Linked DNA regions of Homo sapiens: regions 2, 3, 4, 5, 6 and 7 are each linked to region 1. Evidence: promoter capture Hi-C in 16 types of primary human blood cells and fetal thymus (Javierre and others, 2016). All regions are on one chromosome and are shown on one strand. Each heading gives the region's core, a stretch centred on a gene start or on the middle of the fragment in contact. The rest is flanking DNA. Distances are from core to core; before and after follow the strand shown.

What was found. Contacts are between HindIII fragments. The CHiCAGO score rates a contact against its expected background, and 5 or more counts as called.
Region 2: a contact is called between a fragment that was not itself captured here and the fragment with the promoter of ARFGEF2 in region 1, in 2 of 17 cell types (naive B cells and naive CD8 T cells). The highest score is 5.3, in naive B cells.
Region 3: a contact is called between a fragment that was not itself captured here and the fragment with the promoter of ARFGEF2 in region 1, in 4 of 17 cell types (naive B cells, naive CD8 T cells, naive CD4 T cells and 1 more). The highest score is 10.7, in naive B cells.
Region 4: a fragment that was not itself captured here is called in contact with the fragment with the promoter of ARFGEF2 in region 1 in 3 of 17 cell types (total B cells, naive B cells and total CD4 T cells); the score reaches 7.5 in total B cells.
Region 5: a contact is called between a fragment that was not itself captured here and the fragment with the promoter of ARFGEF2 in region 1, in 1 of 17 cell types (total CD4 T cells). The highest score is 6.2, in total CD4 T cells.
Region 6: a fragment that was not itself captured here is called in contact with the fragment with the promoter of ARFGEF2 in region 1 in 1 of 17 cell types (M0 macrophages); the score reaches 6.3 in M0 macrophages.
Region 7: a contact is called between a fragment that was not itself captured here and the fragment with the promoter of ARFGEF2 in region 1, in 1 of 17 cell types (M0 macrophages). The highest score is 5.4, in M0 macrophages.

The regions. Positions count from the first base shown.
Region 1 is chr20:48,920,442-48,922,971 of GRCh38, forward strand. It overlaps ARFGEF2 (ARF guanine nucleotide exchange factor 2), which reads left to right and starts at 1,270. Exons shown (of 39, transcript NM_006420.3): 1 at 1,270-1,569. The coding sequence starts at 1,449. RefSeq lists silencers at 1,031-1,110, 1,341-1,440, 1,481-1,530 and an enhancer at 1,901-1,980. The HindIII fragment of the contact is 17,186 bases long and covers 1-2,530 here.
Region 2 is chr20:47,628,998-47,631,527 of GRCh38, forward strand. All of the region lies in intron 8 of NCOA3 (nuclear receptor coactivator 3), which reads left to right. It also overlaps the pseudogene LOC100419565. Among named protein-coding and RNA genes, the nearest start is that of NCOA3, 130 kb to the left of the region's middle. The HindIII fragment of the contact is 2,644 bases long and covers 1-2,530 here.
Region 3 is chr20:47,648,724-47,651,253 of GRCh38, forward strand. NCOA3 (nuclear receptor coactivator 3) reads left to right here. Exons shown (of 23, transcript NM_181659.3): 19 at 282-386; 20 at 2,259-2,530. Among named protein-coding and RNA genes, the nearest start is that of SULF2, 140 kb to the right of the region's middle. RefSeq lists enhancers at 1-147, 148-865. The HindIII fragment of the contact is 339 bases long and covers 1,100-1,438 here.
Region 4 is chr20:47,679,873-47,682,402 of GRCh38, forward strand. All of the region lies in intron 7 of SULF2 (sulfatase 2), which reads right to left. Among named protein-coding and RNA genes, the nearest start is that of SULF2, 100 kb to the right of the region's middle. The HindIII fragment of the contact is 5,426 bases long and covers 1-2,530 here.
Region 5 is chr20:47,695,908-47,698,437 of GRCh38, forward strand. The region is part of intron 4 of SULF2 (sulfatase 2); the gene reads right to left. Among named protein-coding and RNA genes, the nearest start is that of SULF2, 88 kb to the right of the region's middle. RefSeq lists an enhancer at 1,555-2,059. The HindIII fragment of the contact is 3,796 bases long and covers 1-2,530 here.
Region 6 is chr20:47,755,241-47,757,770 of GRCh38, forward strand. SULF2 (sulfatase 2) reads right to left here. Exons shown (of 21, transcript NM_001387048.1): 2 at 1,949-2,223. The coding sequence starts at 2,123. Among named protein-coding and RNA genes, the nearest start is that of SULF2, 29 kb to the right of the region's middle. RefSeq lists an enhancer at 2,154-2,530. The HindIII fragment of the contact is 5,711 bases long and covers 1-2,530 here.
Region 7 is chr20:47,771,452-47,773,981 of GRCh38, forward strand. All of the region lies in intron 1 of SULF2 (sulfatase 2), which reads right to left. Among named protein-coding and RNA genes, the nearest start is that of SULF2, 13 kb to the right of the region's middle. The HindIII fragment of the contact is 1,873 bases long and covers 331-2,203 here.

The DNA of each region.
Region 1 (2,530 bases), core at 20-2,519:
ATATGGATGTGTGTATCTTGCCAGTGGCTGTGGTGAAACCCTGCTTGTGGAGAATAGACATAAACACACCTTCTCTCTCTCCCTCTCTGTCTTCCTTTCACCTCCCCTCTCCCTCCACCCCTTCCATTTCCTATTCTCCCAGCATGTTCTTTCCACTCTTCCTCACCTCCTTCCCCTTCACCTCCTTCCTACACCATTCCTTTTTCCATCTCTTTCCTGTTTTCCTAACTTGTTACTCTCATCTTTTTCTTTCTTTTCTGTTCTTCCTGACAGCTCCCCTTCCTACCTCCTCTCCCTTCACCCTTTCTCCTACTCTTTCCCCTCCTCTCATTTCTACCTCTCTTTCCTTTTCACTTCCCCTCTCCCTCCTGTCTTTCTCCTTTTTCTTTTACCTCTGTGCCTCCCTCTCACCTCTTCCCACACCACCTCATCTCCTCCATAACTAACTCACCTCCTTTTTGTTTGTTTGTTTTTTGAGACAGGGTCTCCTTCTGTGGCCCAGGCTGGAGTGCAGTGGTGCCATCACAGCTCACTGCGGCCTCAACCTCCGAGGCTCAAGCGATCCTCCCACCTCAGCCTCCCCAGTAGCTGGGACCACAAGCAGCGCCACCAGGCCCGGCTGTTTTACTTTTTATTTTGTAGAGAAAGGGTCTCCCTATGTTGCCCAGGCTGGTCTCGAACTCCTGGGCTCAAGCGATGCTCCCGCCTTGGCCTCCGGAAGCGCTGGGATTAGAGGCGTGAGCCGCCGCGCCGGGCCTCCCCCCTTCCCCTCCGCCGCCGCCTTCTCATCGCCCTTCCTCCTTCCTCCTGACGCCCCTTACTCCCGATCACTTCTCATTCATTCACCAGCTTCCAGTCCTCGCTCCCTCACCTCTTTTCTTTCCTACTCGCCTTCTCCTCCTGCCCCTTTATCATCTCTCCTTGTCACCGTTCTTTTTTGCCAATCCTCTCGTTCCCCTTCCTTTCCTCATCTCCTCTCTTACCCACGTCATCTCCATTCTCGTGCTCCCCTTCACCTCCCGTTACCTTGCGCTTCTCTCCTCTCATCTCCATCACCACCTCTCCCCGCTTTCGCCTTTCTTTAGCCCCCGCGTCCCCTATACCCTTCGCCCATGCCCACTCCCCTCCCCACCTTCTCTTCTTCCACCCTCCACCCTCGCCTTCTGTCTCTCGCCCACCTGACTCCGCTCCGCCCCCAGCCTTAGGCTCCGCCCCGCTGGGGGTCACGGGGCCGACGGACGCTAGGCGGCCGTAGCGGCCTCGCCAGTCACGTGGTCACGTGACGCGCTCCAACATGGCGGCGCCGTGGGGCCGAGGTGTCGCTTCCTGACGGGGCGGCGCGGACGGACGCGGCCGGTGCCGGCCGGGACGCCGGGCCCGCAGCCTAGCTCGCCATCTCGCTCACGCCGCCCGCCCGCGGGGCCGTCAGCCCCCGCCGGGCCGGGGCCATGCAGGAGAGCCAGACCAAGAGCATGTTCGTGTCCCGGGCCCTGGAGAAGATCCTAGCCGACAAGGAGGTGAAGCGGCCCCAGCACTCCCAGCTGCGCAGGGCCTGCCAGGTGGCGCTCGGTGGGTGAGCCGCTCCCGCCCTGCCCCGCGCTGGCCTCAGCACGTCGGCCGTTGCCCTATCCTACTCGGCCTTGGCCCGGCCTCCTGGCCTCCGCTTCCCCCCGATCCCGAATTCCACCCTTCCGGCCTCCTCCTCATTATACCCCCGGAGGAAGTGTTGCCCGGGCAGCTCGGGACTGGCCCAAGGTCACCTAGCAAGTTGGTGACAACCAGAGCTTGTTCCTCAGGGTTCCAGCTCAGGGCTTTTGCCACGATTCCTTGTCGCCCTGTTTCCTGGTTCCTCCCCTCACCACCTCCAAGTCCTAGAAACAGTAGCCCTTGCCCCAAGTTTTTTCGTTACCTGAGCTCTGCTGATTGGGGTTCCCCTAGGTGAACAGAGCATGTAGGAAGAGCCGTCCAACTGGTTTAGGGAAACCCCTGATTCTTGTTTTGGAAGTGCCCGTTGGAGAATGTTTTCCTTTGGTTTGGGGATCTCCCATAGCTCTTTCCCTCAAGGAAGGATTGTAGAAGGTGTTCTGGATCTCCCAGGCATTGTAGTGAGCAAGACATCTGCTTATTCCTAGCAGTCCACTAAAATACAAGGTCTTCAGCGCGAAGATACTTGTCTGACTTATTCATTGCTGTATCCCTTGCGCTTGCAACAGTGCCTGGCGCACAGTAGGTGCTCGATAAATATTTGCTGATTGAATGGACCCTCAGATTATGGAAAGAGGGAGAATTCTAACTAATAGTTAAAGGCTTGATAATTGATAGCAAAATCACTATCCTATCTTTCAGTTTTAATCATTTAACAAATATTTATCAAGTGCCCACTGCATACCAGGTACTGAGAATTCAGTGGGGAACAAGACGGACATGGTCCTTACCCCTATGGAGCTTATACTCGAATAGAGGAGACAAAATAATTAATTAAGAAAATAGGTGAGGTATTTTGGAATACTGATAAATACTATTTTGAAAA
Region 2 (2,530 bases), core at 15-2,514, 1.3 Mb before region 1:
GCTGAGTCTGCCTGACTTAGCCTGTATTCTTTGCTTTGTGTAACACTAATTTTACAATGTGGACTTTTAACAAGTGATATAAAAATGGAGTAGGTATACATAAAACATAGCTATCACTATTACATATGTATGTGTGTGTTTGTAATATGTATATATAATATACATAATGCAGAATATTTTTAAAGAAATATTGCTATTTTTGCAGTCATTCAATCATTTTATGCCATCAGTAACCTATCTTCAGGATTTTTGAGATTAATTTTCACAATTAAAAGTAGCAAAGGATTATTTTGACAATTCACAGTATAATCTTGTTTACGCTGATGGATGTTACTTTTTTTTTTTTTTGAGACGGAGTTTTGCTCTGTCGTGCCCAGGCTGGAGTGCAATGGCATGATCTCAGCTCACTGCAACCTCTGCCTCCTGGGTTCAAGTGATTCTCCTGCCTCAGCCTCCCGAGTAGCTGAAATTACAGGCGCCCATCACCACGCCTGGCTAATTTTTTACATTTTTAGTAGAGACAGGGTTTCACAATGTTGGTCAGGCTGGTCTCAAAGTCCTGACCTCAGGTAATCCGCCTGCCTCGGCCTCCCAAAGTGTTGGGATTACAGGCATGAGCCACCATGCCCGGCTGTATGTTACTTTATATTTGAACATTTTCTCTGTATTAACTCCCCTCAGATAAACATAGTGACAGCAATTGTTATATATTATTTTATCCTTTTAGAGTGAGTCTTTCTCTGCACCTCTTATGATTTGGCAGTGTTAATTTTCTACTTGAATAGCCATGTTTTACATTTGCTACTGAAGATACTAAATAAAATATCTTTAAGCAATTTAGCAAGTAGCATCTTTGAAAATTATCTCATCAGTATATAAAAGTGATACATGTTTATTATAAAAGTTAGAAATTACCAAGCATGAAAGAAAACAGGACATGATGGAGAAAAAAATTGCCAAGCAAGAAAGATCAAATGCTTTGTGTGATTAACATCATTTAAAACTGAGATCCTACTTACTTTTGACCTCTGGGGATATTTTATCTTCTGTCCCTGATGTGTTTCATTTAATAAACTTTTTATGGACATCTGTTTTGTATTTGTCATGTGGCCCAGGGCTAAACTCAGGAGAGGTGGTTGAGGACAAATCATGTCTATTTTGGGCACGAGTGCACAGGTATTTACTCTTTCCCAGAATGCGTTTATCCCTTTTCCCTAGTCTCCCCCTGCTACTAATAAGATTTTTGGTCACCATTAAAATTCTGAATTTTAAACAGATTATTGGACTGGTGGTTTATTTCTGTCAGCTTATTCAATATTAGTGCCTTTTAAATCTCCAGTAGCTTTTGCAGAATTACCTTTCACTATGAAGCCCCATGAGTTTTCCCAAACCAAACTTGGTTTTCTTCAGTATGTTTTCTAATGAATATGTCATAGAAAGGATAAATATATGGGCAAGACTTTTTTTTTTTTTTTTTTTTTTTGAGACGGAGTCTCGCTCTGTTGCCCAGGCTGGAGTGCAGTGGCGAGATCTCGGCTCACTGCAACCTCTGCCTCCCGGGTTCAAACCATTCTCCTGCCTCAGCCTCCCGAGTTGCTGGGACTACAGGTATGTGCCACCACACTCAGCTAATTTTTTGTATTTTTAGTAGAGATGGGGTTTCACCATGTTAGCCAGGATGGTCTCGAACTCCTGACCTCATGATCCACCCACCTCGGCCTCCCAAAGTGTTGGGATTACAGGCACGAGCCACCGCGCCTGGCCTGGGCAAGCCTTTTCAATGTCTTTCCTAATTTGTCTGGAGTCAGTTTATTGCCCACTTCTTTCAAGTTATTTGTCTGTACCTTTTGGGTCACAACTTCCATCATCATTGGGATTTGGCATATCTGTTGGTGCTGAGCATAAGAGATTGCCCAAGTCTGATTATTGCATTTCTTAGTAAAACCTATACAAAACAGATAACTATTGGCAATCTTGACATCAGCAGGAGCTTCCTATGAAGTCTGCCATGTTTAACCATGGAGCATATTTTGTCACAGAAAAGATTACTGAGGATGTCCAGGTCAAAAACTGTGTGACCAGTTATTATGGCTTGGATCATTCTGTCTGCATTCAAAGACATAGAAAAGGCCTGAAAGCTGATCCAAGACCAGCCATGGAAGCTGGTCACATAGTTTTTGACCTGGATGTCCTCAGTAATTAGTCTGAATTTTCTAAGGGCAGTTTCATCATTATGCAGATCAGCAAGGTTCATTTCAAAAACACAGTTCTTGAGGCCATCAGATGCAGTTTTGGTTCCTTGAGCCCTTTTGACTAGTTTGTTACCAATTAAACACAGCTGGTGCTTTCACATCATATCAGTCTTTTTTAGGAAATGGATTAACCACTTTCTTCTTTGCTCCCATTCTGCCACTTTTTGTAAGGCACTTGCTTTTGCCAACCACCCTAGTGCTGCTTAGAGTGAAAAGGCCTAGACAGTTTTTAAGGACCATCTATTGTCATGAAACCTTCTTTAATTTCATAGTATTTT
Region 3 (2,530 bases), core at 19-2,518, 1.3 Mb before region 1:
CAAAGTGCTGGGATTACAGGTGTGAAGATATTCTTTAAGCTGCAAAATTGCACTTTACTTTTTTTTCCCCAGTGCCAAACAGTAGCCCATCATATGCTAGCCAAAGACTTTTCAACATTGACCTTTTTGCAGTGTGAAAGTACTGGTTCAGTTTAGACGTGACTTAGCCAGGTTATTGTGTTTGGAGATATTACCTCATTGGCTGGTGCTGAGGGTCTGGAAAGCTGTTTTGGCAGACTGACGTGCTCTGCTTGCATTCTAACCAACTTGTCTCACCTCAGTTTTTGAATCAGAGCCGACAGGCACTTGAATTGAAAATGGAAAACCCTACTGCTGGTGGTGCTGCGGTGATGAGGCCTATGATGCAGCCCCAGGTGAGCTCCCAGGTGAGGATGATAAGCCTCTCCACATGCATTGCTCTGTGCTCAGGACAGGGCTTGGCCTGTGGTTGGCTCTCAGTAAATGTTTGTTAAACAAATGAAGGTAATTCTGAATTTCTTGTGTAAGAAAGCAGTCGCATTAAAGACTTTCGACTCTTCCATTCTTCTCTCTGGCTGGTGACTGGGAGGAATCAGAGGAGGGAGAGCTTTCTTCATTAAAACCATCGATTAGTGTTTTTTTAATTGGTTCCCTTTGTGATCAGTTGCTGTACTGTGAGAACAGCTATCACTTGGCTGTTTAGGAATTTAATAAATCTGTAAATGTTCCTCTGTTCCTGGATTATGAAACAACATGCACACTGGGTAAAATTCTGAAATTATAAAGAAGAAAATAAAGAATACATAATCCTGTTCTCAGTGATAGCCTCTGAGATGACCTGTTTCTTGTAGTAGGAGGGGATATTAAAATTCCCTTCTACTTCCAGCCAGTGGTGGAGACAGTATTGAGGGGTTTTTTTAATGTGCATGAGGCAGATGACCACACAGCAATCCTCTATTGTGATTTGAAATATCGTTTATAATTGTTTTTTAAAAAGCAACTGTGAAATGCTCGATTTTTATTGTCTTATGCCTACTTGGAAGTACTGATATTTACATTTTCTTGATAATAAAACATCTTGTGGAAGCTGAGCTAGAATGTCCTACAGAAAGATGATAAAAGCTTGCTTTTTGGAGATGACCCGTAGCTAGTAGAGCTGAAATCAGCTTCCTTGTTGTACTTCAGTTATGTCACCTTCTGAACCTCCAGATAGCTTCTGCTTGCCCCTTACCTCTTTCTGAAAGTTTAAAGAAAGTTCAAGATTTTCTGAGGTGGACCCCTGCTTATCTGAGTATAACCCCATCTTATTTTTTTTGGCTTCATGTTTCAGCCCTCCACCACCCCAACACACTGAATCCTCATTTTCCTGTAATTGTCTTTCATAGTTCCTGAAAAATTTGTCCTCAGATTCCACCCCTAAATGTTTTCTTACTTTGTGGAATGTTTCTAGTCATGTTAAAGCTTGACAGTGTGTTGTCTTTTGTCTTTTAACCCCAAATAATTTTCAGGTCCCTCTTCTTCAGTTCTCCCTCCCTCCCCTTGCAATAGCCAGAAAGCTTTTTTTTTTTTTTTTTGAGAGTCACTGTTGCCCAGGCTGGAGTACAGTGGCACGATCTCGGCTCACTGCAGCGTCAATTCCCTGGGTTTAAGGGATTTTCCTGCCTCAGCCTCCTGAGTAGCTGGGATTACAGGTGCTCATCACCAAGGCTGGCTAGTTTTGGTATTTTTAGTAGAGACAGGGTTTCACCATTTTGGCCAGGCTGGTCTCGAACTCCTGACCTCAAGTGATCCGCCCACCTTGGCCTCCCAAAGTGCTGGGATTACAGGCGTAAGCCACTGCACCAGGTCAGAAAGCTTTTATGTGAAGAATTGTATGTTTTGGCCGGCACAGTGGCTCACACCTGTAATTTAAGCACTTCGGGAGGCCGAGGTGGGCGGATCACCTGAGGTTAGGAGTTTGAGACCAGCCTGGCTAACATGGTGAAGCACTATCTCTACTAAAAATACAAAAATTAGCCAGAGTGGTGGTGCACGCCTGTAATCCCAGCTACTTGGGAGGCTGAGGCAGAAGACTCACTTGAACCTGGGAGACGAAGGTTGCTGTGAGGCGAGATTGTGCCACTGCGCTCCAGCCTGGGCGACAGAGTGAGACCCTGTTAAAAAAAAGAAGGCCCTGGGTGTTTTCTGTCTTATACCTGGTGTATTGTGGGGGTACTATATGTATGCAACTGGCAGGTTCTTGCTATATATATGTAATTGCACTCTTTCTTGGGTATTAGCAGGGTTTTCTTAATGCTCAAATGGTCGCCCAACGCAGCAGAGAGCTGCTAAGTCATCACTTCCGACAACAGAGGGTGGCTATGATGATGCAGCAGCAGCAGCAGCAGCAACAGCAGCAGCAGCAGCAGCAGCAGCAGCAACAGCAACAGCAACAGCAACAGCAGCAACAGCAGCAAACCCAGGCCTTCAGCCCACCTCCTAATGTGACTGCTTCCCCCAGCATGGATGGGCTTTTGGCAGGACCCACAATGCCACAAGCTCCTCCGCAACA
Region 4 (2,530 bases), core at 15-2,514, 1.2 Mb before region 1:
CTCCCCACCCTCCCTGCTTTATCTTTCTCCTGAAGACTTATCACCATCTCATATGCTATATAATTTACTTATTTCTCTGGCTTATTGTCTATTGCCCAGTTAGACTCTAAGCTGCAGGAAGGCTGGCTCAGGTGGTCACTTCTGTATCTCCAGGACTTATACCCTTAGAACACAGAGGAGCTACTCAGTAAATATTGGCTAAGTGAATTCCCATACATCTGCCACCTTTCCTGGCTCCTGTTTCTTTTTTTGAGAGGTGTCTTGCTCTGTCACCCAGGATGCAGTGTGGTGGCATGATCCTGGCTCACTGCAACCTCCACCTCCTGGGTTCAAGCGATTCTCATGCCTCAGCCTCCCGAGTAGCTGGGATTACAGGCATGCGCCATCACACCCATAATTTTTGTACTTTTAGTAGAGGTGGGGTTTCACCATGTTGGCCAGGCTACTCTTGAACTCCTGACCTCAGGTGATACATCCGCCTCAGCCTCCCAAAGTGCTGGGATTACAGGCATGAGCCACCTCTCCTGGCTCTTGTTTCTGGCTGATGGCATTCCCAATGTAGGGTAAGGGACTTAAGGGGTGTGCCCAGCACAGGACCCAGGACCTGTTGAATGGTGGACAGTCCCGTCAGAGCATCTGAGTGCCTTCCCCGCTAGTTCCCTGGGGACCAGGGCAGGGCCTGGGTCCTAGGGTTTCCGTCATCTTTAACCCCTCATCTCTCCCCAGTCCAGTGCCCTGTGAACGTCGGGCAGGCTGCCAAGCATGTGTGCAGCTGCTGAAGATGGGGCTGTGTCATGGGGGGCTCGAAGGCCAGCGTGAGGCGCTACAACTGAATCCAGAGGCGAGGGAGCTGGGAAGACTGCTGAGCGACGGGCGCTCTGCAGAACCCAGCAACCGGCAGCTAATGGGGCTGAGCTTGTCCAGTGGTCCCGCTCCCCCAGGCTCAGGGGAAGGAGGACAGTGGTTGCTTTTCCTGGCCAGCACCAATGCCTTGCTCTGTGTCACAGCTTCTAATTCTGTAGGAACTACCTGGCCCCATTCAGAGTCCCCTGCCCAATGTACTCAGCCTGGTTACTCAAGGGTTTCTGTCACCTCTGGCTACAGTGAATGGTTCAGGGAAGGACACGTGACCTAAGTCAGGCCAGTGGGAGTCAGCCTCAGGTCTTCTGTTCAAAGCAGTTTGGCTTCCTAAACAGGATGGCTGAAAATCTGGAGCTGCTGACCCTGCCACAAGGAGAAAAACCCACCTGAGAATGAAGCCAATTCGGCGGAAGTGGGACTGAGAGATAAGAAATGAGAGCTTTCCAATGGCATTGTAAGACTGCTGGATCCAGCCATGCCTGAGGCTGGAGCTGTGCATGGACTTTTCAGTAACTATAGTTACTGTGTTCCTTTTATCTTACATGCCTTATCTGGTTCAAAGGTCATTTCTGCTTGCAACCAAAGGAGTCCTGGCTGACAGATACCGTGTGTCTTTGGTCCCAAACCTGACATGAGCACTCTCTTTTTCTTGACCATGTGGGATGTGGTTTTGGGCCCTATGAGTCAGATCACAGATTCCGAGGCTGACCAAACCCCCAATGTCAGTGTTTGTAGAGCCCTCAGTGGGTCAGATTCTTTCTGTTCACAGGGATGGTTTGAAGTTTCTGAGAGGCGTGGCAGATGGGAATAGAGACTGCCTGGTTTCAAGCCCCAGCCCCTTCCCTTACTTGCTGTAAACTCAGGCAACTTAACCTCTCCGTGCCTCAGTGGCCTTGGGTGTAAAATGGGGCTACTATGAGCATCCACGTCACAGGGCAGTTGTGATGCTGAAACGAATTATTAATTGTTTTTGAGATGGAGTCTCACTGTGTCGCCCAGACGAGTGCAGTGGCATGATCTCGGCTCACTGCAACCTCCACCTCCCAGGTTCAAGCGATTCTCCTGCCTCAGCCTCCTGAGTGCTGGGATTACAGGTGTACGCCACCATGTCCAGCTAATCTTTGTATTTTTAGTAGAGGCAGGGTTTCACCATGTTGGCCAGGCTGGTCTTGAACTCCTGACCTCAAATGATCTGCCCACCTGGGCCTCCCAAAGTGCTGGGATTACAGGCATGAGCCACAGGGCCCGGCTTGCAATGAATTATTATGTAGTTCTTAGACCAGGCCCTGAAGAGTAGACACTCCATACGTGTGGACTGTCGTTATTACAGCTCTTAGTCCAATGGGGACGCTAAGAGCCAAAGACGGGCGTGATCTGATAAGGTCAACAGTCAGTCATCACTTTCTCTGGCCTTGAACTCATGCAGCCTGCCTCCTGGAATTCTCGCAAAATGTCCAAGGCAGTGGGAACATGTCAGTCTGGAATTCCACACTGCACTGTCAACGCCTTTTCAGGAGGAATTCCGCAGCCAGCCCTGTGTGAGTGCTGGGTGTGTGTTCCCACATCTGGGCATGAGCAGAAGGCAGACCAAATGACAGTCTTAATAGCAACACATCTGCTTTTCAAAAACCTCATTTGAGCCAGCCTCCATAATATCCCAGCCGATCCA
Region 5 (2,530 bases), core at 17-2,516, 1.2 Mb before region 1:
TGGCCGGATTTCCTTTTTAAAGGCTGAATGACATTCATTTTTGTATATACCATGTGAAAAATGCTCTTCTTTTGATTGTTTCTTCAATTAGTTGAAAATGTAAAAACCATTCTTAGCTCAGGGGCCATACAAAAACCACCAGTCTGGGCCCACGGGCTGTGGTTTAGTGCATGGACTTTGAAGCCAGATGGCCTGGGTTCGAATTCTGCTTTATCACTTACTAGGCTATGTGGCCCGGTTACATTACTTAGCCTCTCTGGGCCTCAGTTTTCTCATCTGACAGTTGGGAATAGACACAGTATATACCTCACAGACTATGATGAGAAATGCATGGGTTAATTTGTGTAAAATGATTCAAACAGTATCTGGTACATGGTATGTCTAAATGAGTGTTAGTCATTATTCCTCAAGAACCATATGCCTACATTTTCTTTGTGAAAATTAAAATAGTACAAAGGACAGTGAAGTCTCATTTGATTAGATTACTCCTTACCACCCCCCCACCCCCATAACCTTGGCTCTTCTGTCCCCTACTGGGAATAACCTTTCCAGTGTTTTGTTAGGTACATTATAGTATCACTTTATGCATCTTTTTATATTATTAATCACATCATACTGTACATATTCATTTATCTATCTGACAAATACAGCAGTGAACAAAACAAATGAGCATTCCTGCCTTCATGGGGCTTATATTCTTATGAGAAGAGACAGATACTTAACAAATGAATCAGTAATATACACAGGGTGTAATGCACCAGATGGTGATTTGTTGCAGTAAGGAGTGTGGTGGGGGTGCCCTTATACAAGGTGGTCCAGGAAGGCTAAAGTGAGGTGACATTTGAATAAGGACCTCAGGAGTTCTGGAACTTGCTTTTCCCACTCTGCCTGATGGGCTCAGGACATAAGGCAGACCGGCCTCATCCTTTGCCGAGGATCTTCCAGAGGAGGGATGCTTCACGGTCATTTAGTTATTTCGTGTATTGGTGGACTTTGCTAATTTCTTTCAGTAATAAACAGAGCTACAACCAGCTGCTCCATCACGCCGTCTCCTGCCTATGACTGAGGCTTCTCCAGATAGACAGAGAAGTGTACACGCTGCGGCAAGGGGCGGGGCACATGAAGTTCATAGAATCTGCCAGGTCGCCCCCACACTGGCCGTGCACTGCCATCACCTCCCTGCAGAGCCACCCAACACCCAGGCCCACTTTTGCCAGCTACCTGGAAGCCTCTTTTCGGGTGGACTCAACTCTAGGTCATTCTCACTTCCCTTCCCACTAACAACTGTCTTCCCCTCTCCAACCCTCTTCTGCCATTAGCGCTTGTCCTGTATCACTCTTTTCTCATCACCACTGCCTCTCTTTCTGCCCTTGACATCTGGACCCCTTTGGTGGCATGTGCCCATCTGTGGATTAGTGACTTGGGACAGAGTCCTCAGAGGCCTTCTGAGGGGGGCTTACGAAGGGTTGCCGCTTCCTCCCTGCCTGGGCCTCCCAACAAGGCCCGCCCGAGGCCAGCAGTGACATTCTGCCTTGCCAGAGGCATCTTACTGCCTGATCTAGGGCCCAGGGCACAGGGCTCCTGAGCTCTGCCTTGGCTGGAAACCCCGGGCTCACCCCTGTTCCCTTGACGCTTGGGCTCCTGCTGCCCACTGCTACCCTCAGGATTTGAACCCTGGACCTGAGCCAGTTCTGACTTCACCGCCCCGCCCTCTGCCCACGTCCCTGTTAGAGCATCTCTGTTCCCAGGCCCCTGGTAACTGGGGGGCCAGGAATCCTCTCACGCCTCCCTCACAGGGCTGTTCTCATTCACAGGGGGAGATGTGTGTGGGCAGGAAACAGGGCAAAAGGACGGACGTTCTATGTCCCCATGCTTAGCCCCAAAAGAATCCTGAGCACCCCGGGATAACTTGATTATCGGGCTGCTCTGAGATGAGGCGTGGATGTGGTGAAGAATTTTAAAAAGGAGGGAATGTATTTTTCAGGATATTTAGAGAATCCGCCTGCACTGAGGCTGGGAGGAGGGAAACAGCGTGCTTAGCCCTGGGACTGGAATTTATATTCCAAGGAGTCCATGCCGGACTGCCTCATCAGAACTTTGGAATTAATTCACTTGGGAGGCTGGAGGCCTACTATGTGCAGAATGAGACTTGAGGGCAGGCCGGGGGCGGCTTCTGCCACTTGGGCCTGGACCCATCAGACTTACAGGGAGCCCAGGATGACCTGTCGGAGGCAGAGGGATCTCCATGTGTGCCGGGGTTTCCAGAACAGAAGTGGGACAGAGTGTTTTTTGGCCGTTGAGCACCTAGTCAGCCTTCTCCTGGTGGAAACTCCATTCTTATTTGGGGCTCTATTCCCAGCCAACGTTCCAGCGTAGAGCTCCTGCTACCCCCATGTCTGGCTCAGGAGTGGAGCATGTGACTTATAGTCCAGGGAACCAGGCATCCTCCTGGCCACTCTGATTGGCTCAGGGACAGACATGGGACTGATCCAGAGCCAATGAGATGCACTGAGACTCTCTGGGACTCCTG
Region 6 (2,530 bases), core at 10-2,509, 1.2 Mb before region 1:
AGCCACGGCTTTCTTTGTTCCCCTCTCTCCTGTGTCTACTTCATACCTGCTATTGGTTTCCTTGTATCTGCATACGCTGTTGGTTTCCTTATATCTGCATATGCCTTTGCTTTCTTTTTATCTGCATACACTGTTGGTTTTATTCACAAGTCACAGATGCAAAATTCAGTCAGATTCAGACATGAGACTTAGCTGGATCATGTTGCAAAAATGTGTTGTTCCTAAGAGTGGGTATTCAGCCACTCACCTGTTGATTCGGGCCCCAAATCTAGCGGCTGCCCTTGAAACGTATCTTTTCCATAACCCACATACCTAACCCATTGATCAGTTTATTTCCCAAATATACATCAGGTGGGACCGCATCTCAGCACCCGGGTCTGAGCTTCCATCATCACTGCCCTATCACCCCATCGGCCTCTGAATGAGTGTCCTGTTTCTGCCCTTACCCCTGCGATTTAATTTCATCAAAAGAGCTGGGGGATCCTGTTAGAACCTAAGTGAGGTCACGGCCTTCCTCTTCTTAAGGCCCCCTCATCCATGTCTATTTTACTAAGAATCAAACTCAAAGCCCCCACCATGGCCACAAGGCCTGGTGCAACCCGGGCCAAGTCAGCTCCTCAGCTTCATCTCTCTCCATCACGGCCCCAGCTCCCTCCACTCCGGCTCCCTGGCACTTTTTTTTTTTGCTCCAAACCACCGAGCCCATTTCTATCTCAGTATCTTTGAATTTCCTGTTCTCCTCACCTGGAATGAGCCTCCCTTAGTTCTCTGGCTCCTGACACAGTGCACTGAATGCAACAAATGCGTAATAAACATCTGCTGGATGAATGAACAAACGTGCAGGGCATCGGAAATTCTAAGCATGACTATAGCCGAAACAGCGTCGGGGCTACACAATGTGAGACCAAGAAGCTCTGAGGTCCAGGTGCTGCCTGCAAGACCCCTCTGCAAAATTCTTCAAGAAACGAAACACACCTCTCTGGCCACAGTCTGCAGACTCCCCATAGTTATCAAATGCGCCTCATTCTAAATGCTGCCAGGAGATAGGTATCCTATGTGTCAAATTGTCAATAAAAGCTCTGGGCTCTGATTGCTTCCTGGCTACAAATTCTTTCTGCACTGAGAAGCTCCCGGAGGAAAAAAACTATACTTGTGATCATTAATACAAAGCATTGCAAGGAACAACTTGGTTTTATGTAAATTGCCTTTTCCTGGTAGCTAAAAGACAAATTCAGGTTGTCAAGGCTAACCTAGTCAACCTTCACATTTGTTGCCACCAACAACACGCTGTTATCCTTTAAGAGTGGACAGAGGCTGAGGGATCACCCTTCACGGGATCAATGATTGACAGTCTTTGCCACAACCCACAAGAGCCTCCAAAATTTGGCTCCAGGCTCATGTCTCATCTTTTTTTTTTTTTTTTGAGACAGAGTCTCACTCTGTCACCCAGGCTGGAGTGTAGTGGCATGACCTCCACTCACTGCAACCTCCTTCTCCTGGATTCAAGTGATTCTTGTGCCCCAGTCTCCTCAGTAGCTGGGGTTACAGGTGTGCGCCATCATGCCTGGCTCATTTCTGTAGTTTTAGTAAAGACGGGGTTTCACCACGTTGGCCAGGCTGGTCTCGAACCCCTGACTTCAGGTGATCCACCTGCCTCGGCCTCCCAACGTGCTGGGATTACAAGCATGAGCCATAGCGCCCAGCCTGTTCTCTTTAACTCTTTGGAGAAATCCAGGAACGGTTGTGCAACTGGAGAAGGGTAGAGACCCCTAACCTTGAGGACCCAGTTGTGACCCCAAACACGTGTGGGTGGCCCGTGTCTTGGTTTCAATGTACTCAAAAGTGAGCACGACGCATCAACACCACCGCCTTGCCTCAGGAGCCTCAGCCTAACCCAGGGACCCTGCTCCGAGGGGCCGAGGTGCCACCCTGGGGCCCCGAGGCTTACCCAGCTCCACATCCTGGTCGTCCGTCAGCACCAGGATGATGTTGGGGCGGATGTTCCTGCGGTCCCTCTGAAACCTGCCTTTCAGGCGGTGGTGCGACAGGAAGGCCGAGCTTCCACCCAGCAGGGAGAACACAGTTGCGGACAGCAAGCACAGCACGAGGCTCGGGGGGCCCATCTTCTTTTTTTGCTGATCTGGTGCTTCTTTTGGGATGCGGGAGTCTCAAGTTGCGTCTGTGGCTTTGTTTCTTTTCCCTCGTCCCTCTTCACTCGCAGATCTAGAGGAGGAGGAAGAATCAGGTCAATATTTATGTCAAGGCTGCCGGCTGCTCATTCTTGCATAATGATTTGTATGGCGGCTGGCATGAACAATGGGAGTTTCTTTGAACAGGGGTGGCTATGGCAGAGTGAAAACCGAACTCCGCTGAAGTTAGCAAAGTCTTTACAGTTTGCTTGGTCAACAGACTGGCAGAAAAGCCTTCTGTGGCCACTTCTGCAGAAACAATTTCTTCCCTGGATCCAGTGAGCCTCTGATGTGTCGGTGGCAGCCCAAGACCCGAGTCAGATAACAGCCGTCTCTGAATA
Region 7 (2,530 bases), core at 17-2,516, 1.1 Mb before region 1:
GTAGAAAGGAAGCCACCTAACAAACCCAGAAAACCCCACAGAAGAATAAGACCTCGTTTGGGGAAAAAGGCCCCAACCTCCCCCAGCTCTTCCCTTCTGCAGAGGCAAGAAATTTTCCAACTCAGCCTCTGCCCTTGAGCCCTGTGCTCAAAGCCGCCCAACAACATGGAGGTTGCCCTGGAGTCCAGGAGGGAAGGCTGCTGTCCCTGGGAGCCCCTCTCATCAGGCAGGTATTGGCTTGTCAGTGGCAGGATGGGGCGGGGGCGGGGGCAGTGATGATGAGGCTCTGCAGGCTTCAAATGGGGGTGCTGGGCCAGGGCTCCGGGGCCAAGCTTGGAAGGATGCTCATCATGCCTGGCTGGGCAGGAGACCTGGAAACATCTCCCAACCTGCCGGAACTCCGCCTGGGATAACACAGCTTTTCCACCTGGGCCAGAATCAACTGCTGCTAGAGTTTTTTACAGGCAGCTCCCCAGGAAGTTTCTGGCAAGATGGCAGCTTCCAGGGCAGGGGCTCCTGATTTGAGGCAAATGGTACAGCCTGATCTGCTCCGAAAGGGATGACAGGGCTGATCGTTAACCTCTGTGCTCCATCCCATATGCCAGCGTCTCAGAATAAATAAATGAATTTTTAAAAGTCTGGTATAAGTAGAATACCCAAATCTGGGCCTAAATTCATTCATTCATTCCCTTTCTTATTTCAATAAATTTATTTAGAAAGAAAAGTCTATCTTGGAGGAACCAGCACCCATTGCCATAAACCTGGGTCTCTCAACCTTGGCATTACTGCCGCGTGGGCAGGATCATTCTTCGATGGGGGACTGTGCTGTGTATCACAGGGTGTTCACAGGCCTCTGTCCATGAGATGCAAGTAGCACCTACCCCAGTTGTGACAATCAAAAATATCTCCAGACACTGCCAAATGTCCCCCTAGGGGGCAAAACTGCCCCTAGGTGAGAACCCCTGCCATACTTAGATGGCAACAGTATAAAGGCAATGACATTGTGGTTACATTCTTGCTTGCCAAGGCCTCTGCGCTTCCCCTTACATTGGGAGTAGGTCTCCTTGAAGACCATAAAGGAGGAGTTCACGCGATTCCCTCCTTGATGACCCAGAGGCTTGGAGGAGAGCAGAAAAGGAAAAGGGGAAAAAGGAAAAGTTAAAGGTTTTTACGTTGGAAATGGCATTTCCAATGTAGTCCAGGCCCTACCCCGTCTCTTATCCTGAATCTAGGCCACTTCACTCACTCAGGTCTCCTGCCCGACCCTCCTCCTGCCATGACCTGCTTATGATGAGATCAACGCCACTTACGCCCTGTGCGTGGACGGCTAAGATGAAGACTACACCTTGATCCAGTCAATGGGACCTGGTTGGTGGAGGCCACCGGTCTGGCACAAGACTTGGCAATGCAAGAAGTCTGGATGTTGTCTGGTGACCTTTGGAGAGAGATATGTTTGCAGTGGCCTTTGTCTAAAGCAGGGACAAATATGCAAATGCATCCAAGGGTCGGGCAGGAGACCTGAGTGAGTAAAGTGGCCTAGATTTAGGATAGAGATGGGGTGGCGCCTGGACTACACCGGAAACACCATTTCCAAAGTAAAAACTTTCAACCTATTTTAAGCACTGAGCGGGCTCCATAAAGCCCCGCTGGAGCTTGGCCTGGGAGCTATGTGCGACTCTTCCAAGCTATCCAATCTTTCCTGAGCACCTACTATGTGCCACATGCTAAGAAACAGCAGTGGCCACAAGGCAGGCCAGGCCTCTGTCCTCATGGAGCTGTGATACCTTGGTGGAGGAGAAAATGAATGAATGAAGATTGTCTTAAGAGCTTTGGAGGAAGCTGTCAGGTGATAGGATGGACAGTAAATTGGGAAAGGCCTCTCTGGCATGAGGAGGTGGCATAAGGAAATGGCATCTGAGCTGAGAGCAGAGGCGGGCGAGAAGCCAGTTGTGGGCAAAATGCTTTCTATGAACGGAGGAAGTAAGTGCAAAGGCCCTGGGGTGGGAATGTGCACAATGAAACCAACATGGTGCAGCCGAGCACGGCAGTGTGGCCCACAGGAGGCTGGACACCCCTTTGCCCCAGCCCATGCCTTCTGGGCAGGCCACACCCGCTGTCCTTTCTGGCTGTTTAGAGGAAGTAGAAATCAGATACAGAAATTCCCACCTCTGTTCTTTGTTCCTTTGTCTCAGCTGTGGACAAAAGCTTCCCTGGCAGGGAGTTACAAAGTTATTTCTGCAAAAGGCCTTTGGCCAAAAGCAATAAAGTCCGACTTGAACAGAGTCATTATTCACGCCTAACTGTGGGCTGGTTCTCAGTGTAGACTGCCACAGTGGGGACTGACAATTCCACCTTTTTAACCCCCTCCTCCTTTTCAGCCCCACATTTTCTTAGCCCTGCTTACCCCCACAGAACATGTATTTATGTTTCCAGAGATTGTCGTTTCCTTCCAGAAGAATATAAAAGGAATAAAAGGTATTTTGACGGCTTGGTATTAATAATCCAATTACTTCTTTCCTTTTCACCCAAT